Linked DNA regions of Homo sapiens: region 1 is linked to region 2. Evidence: promoter capture Hi-C in 16 types of primary human blood cells and fetal thymus (Javierre and others, 2016). All regions are on one chromosome and are shown on one strand. The core of a region is centred on a gene start or on the middle of the fragment in contact, and the rest is flanking DNA. Distances in the headings are between cores, read along the strand shown. Region 1 has its middle 26 kb from the start of PLAGL1. Region 2 holds the start of FUCA2 (alpha-L-fucosidase 2).

Region 1 (5,078 bases), core at 1,600-4,099, 520 kb before region 2:
CACGCAGGCGTGCTCTGTGACAAGAGGCAAGCAGACTGTGCGAAGGAAAGATTTAAGATACTACCTTTAGTTTTCCTTTCCATGTGCAAATGAAGGTGGTGTAATCACTTTCTGCCTCTCTCCAGGGCATATAATTCATCACAGCAATGTCTGGTCCTTTTATGATTTGTCCAACACCAAGAACAAACCATTAGGGGATGGCCTTCATTTTATGCCAGAGTATTTCAAACCTGTTTAGTCAAATAGTGTCATAATGGGCATTTAGCAGGTCTGCCTTCTTGCTTGTCTTAGAGCAGTTTTCTGGAAGTTGCACAATTTCTGTTCTGTAGTTTCACTTTTTCCATTCTTTCCTCTTTCTTTCGTCCCTGAGTAGTGAAGAAGCCTCACAAGTTAAAACAAACAAAACAAAAAGCTATTCTGAATAAGAAACACATGTTCCTAGAGTTGGCCCCTAGATGTCTACCACGCTCTTTCCAGCATGTCACTTGCACCCGGTAGCAGCCCCAGGACTGGAGTCCTGTCACGCGGCAGTAATTGTCCTGTCACAAAGTGCTGAGGGTGTGGAGTTGTGTAGCGGGTCCCCTTGTCTGGGCAGGCTCGGCTGTGGAATTTTTGCCCATTTGGTGTGGAGCATGTGCCCCTTTGGTACTGGGCATGTGGGCTGGCTGTCTTCAGTCACTAAGACTGAAGCATTGCACACTTGCACCACTTCTCTGCACAAAGTCTGTGTATTTCACAGCTGATTTCCTCAGGATTGTGTTATAAGGCTTGTGTTTCCTAAAATGAAACTGGCAAAGATGAAATAGCCTAAATGGACTGTTCTTAGAGTCAGAGGAAGTGGTTGTCATTTCTGGGCATAAAAGACTTCTCCTCAGGCCCCTAAGCATTAGTGAGCATTGGAAGGAGTCATTCTGGAGGCAGAGCATAAAAGTCGGCTTGTAGCTGCCCTCTGGGTCCACCTGGGGTGTCCTTGAAGCACTTTCTTGGGGTTGGAGTCCTGCATTGAGGGTTTCCAGGCTAAGCCACACGTAATCAGATGGCCATCCAGGCACAATAAAACCCAGAAATGCCCCTGCTCCTCCACCTCCTTAAAGAAGTTTCTCACCAGCCCACTCCAGTGATCCCTGAACTGCGTTTCTTTGCCCCACCAGGTGGCTACCCTTGATTTGAGGGCCTCTAGTAGTGCCAGAAATGTTCTTGACATTGTCATTTTTCTCATCAACCATATGAGATCAGTAATGATCTACATTACACATATTAAAAAAATGAGGTATCATATCTAGAGGCAAAAAGAAGAAAAAACAAGAAAATGAGGTAATTTGAGTATTGGGCATTTTGTTCTAGTCTCACCACTCATAGCAACAGGGATTTGACACAAAGCCTCTTGCCCCCTGTGATGGTTAATATTGAATGTCAACTTGATTAGATTGAAGGATGCAAAGCATTGTTCCTGGGCATCTCTGTCAGAGTGTTGCCAAAGACGATTAACATTTGAGTCAGTGGACTGGGTGAGGAGACCCACCCTCAGTCTGGTTGGGCACCATCTAATCAGCTGCCAGCACGGCTAGAATAAAGCAGGCAGGAGAAGATGGGAGGGCAGATTTGCTGAGTCTTCCGGCCTTCATCTTTCTCCCGTGCTAGATGCTTGCTGCCCTTGAACATTAGACTCCAAGTACTTCAGCTTTTGGACTCTTGGACTTACACCAGTGGTTTTCCATGGGCTCTCGGGCCTTTGGCCATAGACTGAAGGCTGCACTGTGAGCTTCCCTATCTTTGAGTTTTTGGTGCTTGGATTGATCTACCACTGGCTTCCTTGCTCCTCAGCTTGCAGGAGGCCTATTGTATGACTTCACCTTGTGATTGTGTGAGTCAATTCTCCTTAATAAACTCCCTCTCATATATACATCTATCCTATTAGTTATGTGTCTCTAGATAACCCTAATATACCCCCAACCCCCTGAAACATTTTAGTATGAAAAACTTTGAAATGTACAGGAAAGTTGAATTTTACAGTGAATGCCCTTATACCCACCACTAGATTCTATCATTAACATTTAACTGTTCTCAATGTATTACATACCCATCCATCAATTTACCTTATTTCCAAGTTAATACTCAAAGATTTTTGTCCAAACCTGAAAGCCTTCAGCTGTAGTCCTAGATCAGGCTCTGGGAGGAGTATTAGTCTACTCAGTGATGTTAAACAAAGCTGATGCTTTGTTCCTGGTTCATCTACTTTGCTTAAAGCTTGCAAAACTCCACAAATCTGAAAATTACTGTCAGCTATGTAAGATGACAGTCCCCTCCAAGGAAGATTTTTTTTTTCAATCTTAAAAGCTAGGGGGAAAACCTGATTTTTAGAATAAAATAAACTCCAAAGTTAAGTTCCATGTTTGATATTGTAGATGAAATTTTGGCTGTCCAAGGTTCATTATTGCATAATGACAATTTGTCGGGGCCTCCCACTTTTCTTTGCTGGAGGACTGAATTAGCTGCACACTTCCTTTCTGGCAGATGATTTATTGAACCCCCTGAATGAGAGGAGGATACAAAGGAAACAAATAAGTGTTTTATTTTCTTGAAGAGAAACAAACACTAAAAGGACTTGAGGCTTACTTAGTTAACAGGAAAACTGGAGAGGCTTAAGTCACTGCCCTTGGGATGAGTGTGCAGTGAGCCCCGTCTTCCAGTCAGCCTGGGGGCTGTGTGCCCAGCAGCCTGAGTCAGCAATCTGGGGCCTAGAGGCTTCAGTCCAGAGGGTGTGGTGTGGTTGGGGGGTTGTCAGCCTGGGCCTTGGCAGCTAGAGAAAGATGGAAGAGCCCTGGAATGAGGCACCCCAGGAGGGAGGCTGGGGTTCGCTAAGCTGGGGCACCCCCTCCTCCAACAACGTGGTTTTACATGTAAACACAGGTCATTCTTTTCAGCCCTGCATGGAGATGTAATTAACAGTATAAAAGACTCCAGGAAAATTGAAGTCTGCAGTTTTATATGTACTACATGGAGACCATGTCTGTAGTGTAGTAAAAGCATCCATGTGTTTTTGATTTTGCATAGTGTATCTTTCATCTCTAGCAATTCTATTTGGGTTCTTCTACATTCTTGAGTGTTTGGAGCACATTTATAATAGCTGCTTTTATGTTCAAGTCTCATTACCTCAGACTTAGAAAAGACCATTTCTTTTGACAGATTTTTTTCTCTAGTTATGGGTCATATCTTCCTGCTTTTTTGCATGCCTGATAATTTTTTGATGTGAAGGTAGACCTTGTGATTTTACATTGTTTTATGCTGGATTTTGTTTTATTCCTTTAAATAGTGTTGGACTTTGTTCTGGCATGTAGTTAAGTTACCTGATCAGTTCTAAACTTGGACATCTCTTTAGCTAAATATCCCAGTCCACTGTTTACACTTCTGGCTTTCCACATAACTACAGGACACATTTCACTAAGCTTTCTACTAGTATATAACAAAGATCATCCTTACTGCAGTTTCTAGTAATGTGTTCCTCATTTCCTTCTGAACTCTCACTGGTACCACCTTTCCTGTCTGTATTTCAGTTTGCTGAAGACAATCTAGGTTTTTCCATCATGTTTCTCAGAATTCTTCCAGCTTCTACCCACTCCCCAATTCCAAGGCTTTCCACATTTTTAGATATTTGTTACAACAGCACACCACTTCCAGGCAGCAAAGTTCATATTAGTTTTCTATTGCTGCCCTGACAAATTACTACAAACTTAGTGGCTTAAACCTGGTATTTATTATGCCCTAGGTCTGTAGGTAAAAAGTCCAAGCTGACCCTGCAGTAGCTCTGACATCGTCTCTCACCATTCTTTGTATATTCCAGGCTTTAGCAATTACAGGCAGTAGTCCTCATGTCACTCACATATCTGCGCACTTCTTGTGGTATGACCTTTACCTAGCATGCTCTTCCCATTTTGTTTATTTGCTGATGTCCTGTTTTCTAAAATTCATCTAATGAATAATTTCTTCTAGAAACTTGGGCTCTACTACTGAGTTCAGCTAAGTGACCTAAATCTGTGTGTCCATAATAGCATGTGGTCCTTCATCATCACTTATCATGCCATATAGAATTATCTATCACATGTCTATTGCCCCGATATAGTGTCCCTCTTAATCTCTTACCTCTCAGGGTTTACTTAGTAATTGCCTGGAACATAGTAGCAACCAAAGAATGCTTAGAATTGAACTAGGTAGGCTGGGCATGGTGGTTCATGCCTGTAATCCCAGCACACTGGATCACTTGAGGTCAGGAGTTTGACCAGCCTGGCCAACATGGTGAAACCCTGTCTCTACTAAAAATACAAAAATTAGCCAGGCGTGTTGGCATACGCCTGTAATCCCAGCTACTTGGAAGGCTGAAGCAGGAGAATTGCTAGAGCCCAGGAGGCGGACGTTGCAGTGAGCCGAGACTGTGCCATTTGACTCCAGCCTGAGTGACAAACCAAGACTCCGTCTCAAAAAACAAACAAACAAAACCCCAAAAACACAACCAAAACTGAACTAGGAGGTAGAAGAAATTATGACACTATTTTACCACTTAGAACTTAAAATTTCTGCCAAGAAGCTAAAAATTAGAAGGCAGATAAAAACTGGCTTAAAAATTGCAATAAGTAGCTGGGCATGGTGGTTCACACCTGAAATCCCAGCACTTTGTGGGGCTGAGGTGGGAGGATCACTTGAGCCCAGGACTTTGAGACCAGCCTGGGCAACATAGTGAAACCTCATCTCCACCAAAAAAAAAAAAAAAAAAAGCCAGGTGTGGTGGCACATGCCTGGAGTCTCAGCTACTCAGGAGGCTGGGGCAGGAGGATCGCTTGAGCCCAGGAAGTTGAGGCTGCAGTGAGCTGTGATTGTGTCACTGCACTCCAGCCTGGGCAACAGAGAGATAGATACTCTGTCTCAAAAAAAAAAAAATGCAATAAGTTATAGGGAGAAACTTGATATACCATATATTTTATAAAAACCATTGTGCCCAAATAGGTAAAGGGGAAAAGGTCATCATGACTATGAAAGAAATCATAGATGACACAAAGAAATGGAAACACATCCCATGCTCATGC
Region 2 (5,121 bases), core at 2,489-4,988:
TTTATTTCCCCCATGCCTGCTCTTCTACCGTGAAGCTGGGATATTTACCAAATAAAGACTGGTTTGGGTTCAGTTCCTTTTGAACCTTTTCTTCTGCATGTCCAGAGAGAGACTGCATTGATGCCAGCTGCCAGGCAAATGTTTCACTTCTTCCACTGTCCACTTCAGAAGAATTCTGGGGACTGCCAAGACTGGCTGGTGGCAGTCATCCAACTCCCATATGGAGATCTATCCAGAATGTGTCCTCGAGAGCCTCGCTCAGATATCAGCTCCACCTCGGCAGCTAATCTTATCCCTGTGGACACACATGGCAAGACTGCTTCCTCTGGCAGCAGCAAGGAATTTGGCTAGGGCTGGCCTCTCACCATCTCCCGCCTGGGCACCCTGAGTATCAGCAGCTGCCCAACATGCGGCTGCTGGCCGTGATGGTTCCAGAAGGGAGGCACGCCCTTCTGTCTTCATCTTGTACCCCAAGTAACCTCAGACAAACAGGATCAGAGTTGACAGTGTTCCCCATCAAGGCCACAAGCCCTTCAAATGCCTTATACATGAGCCATGTGTACCTGCAGAACCCAGGGTTTCACTCAGATTTCTGGATCCCCTATCAAAACCTTTAAATACACAGTTTAAGCCTTATGAGGTGTGATTCTATTGCTCAGTTAGCAGTAGCTTTAAGTGCAAAGACTAGCTTTGTAAGGCATTACAAACGTATAAAATGTGAATGGAATCTACAGCAGGCAGGTCTTTCCCTAAAGGACCATGTTCTAAACGACTTCATAGATTTATTTCTTTCAGTCATTTAACAAATATTTTTAAGTAGAATCTCTTCTTCCTCTTCACTTTCAGATAATACTATTTACTATTCCTTTCAAATCCTATAGCAATGGTTCCCAACCTGGTATATTAGGATTCTTATGTGTCCTGAAGGGCACTAAGGGAGGTCTTTAATATATTTTCAGTATTTCTTACAGAAAATAGACTTTTATGATAAGGTTGTACTTACCAGTTAAAAACATTTCTTTGCCTTCAAGTGAAATGACAAATGACCCAAGTGGCATCCATACAGATCTGATTACCACTCTTTAACTGAAATATATGGAAGTGTAAATAATTCATAACATGATAAAAGGGCTTTGGAAGATGGGCGTTTCTGCTATGTGGTGTTCACATGGGGAAAGGATGCCCACTTATGAGAGGACAGGGTCCTGCTGCCGCTGCATTGTCACCACAGTCATGTCTACTCTCCCTATGGCAGTTCACAGTATCATTGTCACTGTGAATATTGTCTTTTGCACTTATTACACAAACTTCTGATTAGAGAGGATGTCAAGGCATAGTGGCTGAGAAGCCCATATTTTTGTTCAAGTGTGCCCCAGGGTTCAGTGGCCACTGAGGCCCTAGATCATTCTGGGTTCCACAAACTCAATAATAAATATTTGTCAGCCCAGGCACCGTGGCTCATGCCTGTAATCCCAGCACTTTGAGAGGCTGAGGCAGGAGGATGACTTGAGATCAGGGGTTCAAAACCAGCCTTGCCAACATGGTGAAAATACAAAAGTTAGCTGGAGGTTGGGGTCTGTAATCCCAGCTACTCGGGAGGCTGAGACACGATAATTGCTTGAATCCCCGGGGGTGGAGGTGGCAGTGAGTCAACACTGTGCCACTGCACTCCAGCCTGGGCAACAGAACCAGACTCTGTCTCAAATAAAAAAAAATTGTCATCTTTATCACAAACTGGAGCTATTGCAATTGGATTCGTTGAGCCCTTTCCTCTAGAACACCCTCACTGTAAAAAAACAAAACAAAATTGGGGACTCTTACGGTGGAGCTGTGGCCCCGGGGGGCCATCTGGCATGTCATGGAGAGGAAAAATGCCCCTACACCTGCAGTGACAGCGCCCTCTGCTGCTCCCATCTCTCTGCAGAGATGGGTTGGGATAATGCAGGCAACAGCCACTTAGTGTCAAGTTCTTCACTCAATAATTAGAACCCCAGTTCACTGGAGAGCTTCAACAAACATTTTGAGTGCTGCTTTTCTGCTGTAATTGTAGGCACTACAGAAAAGAAGGTCATTATGAATGCCCTCAAAAAGCTCACAGTCTGATGGGAAATCAGACCTGTACCACCTAGCTACTAGAGGATGCGTGAAATCCTATGTGTGCTTGGAAGGAGGTGTTATGAAGCAGATCAGGGAAAGTACAACATTCTGGGAGGGAAGGGTGGTGGCAGAAAGCTTCACAAAAGAAGCAGCATTTGAATTGGCTCATTGAAGGGTAATGATTTCATGGGGGCAGAAGCAGTTGAGGATTCTGGCTTTACTTTGAAAACACTTACGAGGTGGAGGAGAGGCTGGGCTTGGTGGCTCATGCCTGTAATTCTAGCACTTTGGGAGGCCAAGGCGGGCAGATCACCTGAGGTCAAGAGTTTGAGACCAGCTTGTCCAACATGGTGAAACCCTGTCTCTACTAAAAAAGAAAAGAAAAATACAAAAATTAGTCTGGCACAGTGGCATGTGCCTGTAGTCCCAGCTACTCTGGAGGCTGAGGCAGGAGAATCCTTGAACCCGGGAGGCAGAGGCTGCAGTGAGCCTAGATCATGTTACTGCACTCAAGCCTGGGCGAGAGAGCGAGACTCTGTCTCAAAAACAAACAAACAAACAAACAAACAAACAAACAAACAAACCAAACAAGAGGTGGAGGTGATAAGCTTCCCAAATATCCTTTTGATTAATCTTTCCAAGTTGCTGGCCTTTTTTCCCAAGCTTGCAGGTTTCTTAAACATTCATTCCACTGGTTTCACCTGTCTCAGATCATCTCCTTGTTCAATGCAGTGGTTCTCAGGAAAGTTTGGACCACCAATCAGAAACATCACAATTTTGTTTTCTTTCTTTTTTTTTTTTTTTTTGAGATGGAGTCTCACTCTGTAGCCCAGGCTGGAGTGCAGTGGCACCGTCTCTGCTCACTGTAACTGCCTCCCGGGTTCAAGCGATTCTCCTGCCTCAGCCTCCCGAGTAACTGGGACTACAGGCGTCCGCCACCACGTCCCGCTAATTTTTTGTATTTTTAGTAGGGACGGGGTTTCACCGTGTTAGTCAGGATGGTCTCGATCTTCTGACCTTGTGATCCGCCCGCCTCGGCCTCCCAAAGTGTTGGGATTACAGGAGTGAGCCACCGCGCCCGGCCCAACATCAGAACATCCTAGAAGTAGGAACTGGGTAGAAACGCAAATTCTTGGGCCCCAACCTAACTGCTGAATCTGAAGCTCTTGGAATTTCATCTGATACAAATTCAAGGTTGACAACCACGGTTCTAACATGCAGGATCTTGGGAGCTGATACAGAGGCCGAGAAGGATCTAGGTTGCTTTCCATGTTCCATCATGGCGAGACCCGGCTGAAGTTCCTGCCTTGACCTTCTCGTGCACGCTTCGGACGTGTGGAGCAGCCACCAGGGTGGGCTGGGGGCATTGTCTTCTTGGGCAGTTTCTTGGTCAGGGTCGTGTCTGCTTGAGGGCAGAGGCGCTGGCCACAAGGCCCTGACTCAGACTCATATTTTCCCCTCAAGAGGACAGAGCCTTAGCAAAGCCGTCCCAGCTGGCTTTGGGGTAATGCTGGCCTTAGTTATGCTGAGCGATGCAGCCCTCCTGAGGTCATTCGGAACGCCCGGGAGAGTGGCCACTCCCGCCCCAGAGGGGGAAGGGTGGCCGGTTTCCAAGTCCGACTTGGTCAGGTGACCGCGGCGCGGCATACTCAGCGGCAGAGACGGAAGAACAGCGCTCCCGAGGCCGCGGGAGCCTGCAGAGAGGACAGCCGGCCTGCGCCGGGACATGCGGCCCCAGGAGCTCCCCAGGCTCGCGTTCCCGTTGCTGCTGTTGCTGTTGCTGCTGCTGCCGCCGCCGCCGTGCCCTGCCCACAGCGCCACGCGCTTCGACCCCACCTGGGAGTCCCTGGACGCCCGCCAGCTGCCCGCGTGGTTTGACCAGGCCAAGTTCGGCATCTTCATCCACTGGGGAGTGTTTTCCGTGCCCAGCTTCGGTAGCGAGTGGTTCTGGTGAGTGCGCTCCCTTTTGTCTCGTCTGCCGCGCTTTTGTCCCCACCCGCAGCCTCCAGCCACCACCCAGCGGGCCTGGTTCGCCGCCTGGTGCTGCCTGCACCCTCGTCGGTTTCACCTCCCACTGCGTTACCCGCGTTTCGCACTTCCGGGTGTCGAATATGTGGTTTCCTGCCTAAGTGCTTCTGCTGGATGAACAGGGAATTTTTCTTCCGTGTGACTGTAAGAGTTTTCAGATACTCCTGACTCCTCAGCTTCTTCATAGTTGCGCATATTAAGCTGTAGTTATGACACTACAACATCGAGCTACTACAGACATTCATCAGTTTGTGCAGGGGCATCACACGAGCGGTGACTCAGGCACAATGGCCTATGGTTGCTCTGCTGCTACCTGCCAATTTACAGTCGTTCTGCCATGAAGTTATGGTTAAAACATAGTCATGAGTATGTGAAACGACTGTTCATTGAACACCATTGGCTACTTAATGTTAACATGTTACCCATGTGTGGCTCTAGGAACTTTTTAAAGAGGTTCTAGAATGGTACTCTTAACACAACCCAGTTATCATACTGCCGTATGAAAGGTGCTACACAAAAATCTGTGCGTTAGATTTTACCTTGAGATCTATGTGAAAATGTGCATGTAATTTCTTAAACTGTTGCACATGTCTTTTCTGACTAAATGCTACAAGTATTAAGTCCTTCAAAACAGAAATATTTTGTGTGCATATATAGAAACATACACATAATATATTCTTTTTTTTTTTTTTTTGAGACATAGTCTCATTCTGTCACCCAGGCTGGAGTGCAGTGGCACCATCTCGGCTCACTGCAACCTTCGCCGCCCGGGTTCAAACGATTCTCGCGCCTTAGCCTCCTGAGTAGCTGGGACTACAGGCGCACGCCACCATGCCTGGCCAATTTTTTTGTATTTTTTAGTAGAAACGGGGTTTTGCCATGTTAGCCAGGCTGGTCTTGAACTCCTGACCTCAGGTGATCCGCGGTGGCTCATACCTGTAATTCCAGGACTTTGGGACACATAATATATTCTTAAGTAAAAGAACGGAATCATTA

Evidence for each region. The method cuts DNA at HindIII sites, captures the fragments that hold promoters and counts their contacts. A CHiCAGO score of 5 or more calls a contact.
Region 1: a contact is called between a fragment that was not itself captured here and the fragment with the promoter of FUCA2 in region 2, in 1 of 17 cell types (M0 macrophages). The highest score is 6.4, in M0 macrophages.

The regions. Positions count from the first base shown.
Region 1 is chr6:144,031,976-144,037,053 of GRCh38, reverse strand. It overlaps a transcript of PLAGL1 not described here and the pseudogene LOC100131041. Among named protein-coding and RNA genes, the nearest start is that of PLAGL1, 26 kb to the right of the region's middle. RefSeq lists an enhancer at 444-493. The HindIII fragment of the contact is 1,199 bases long and covers 2,250-3,448 here.
Region 2 is chr6:143,510,337-143,515,457 of GRCh38, reverse strand. It overlaps FUCA2 (alpha-L-fucosidase 2), which reads left to right and starts at 3,738. Exons shown (of 7, transcript NM_032020.5): 1 at 3,738-4,047. The coding sequence starts at 3,824. It overlaps LOC105378035 (a long non-coding RNA gene), which reads right to left and starts at 3,673. Exons shown (of 4, transcript XR_007059796.1): 1 at 2,682-3,673; 2 at 49-2,464. RefSeq lists enhancers at 2,778-3,438, 3,460-3,639, 3,750-3,879, 3,439-4,101 and a silencer at 4,302-4,505. The HindIII fragment of the contact is 2,651 bases long and covers 2,763-5,121 here.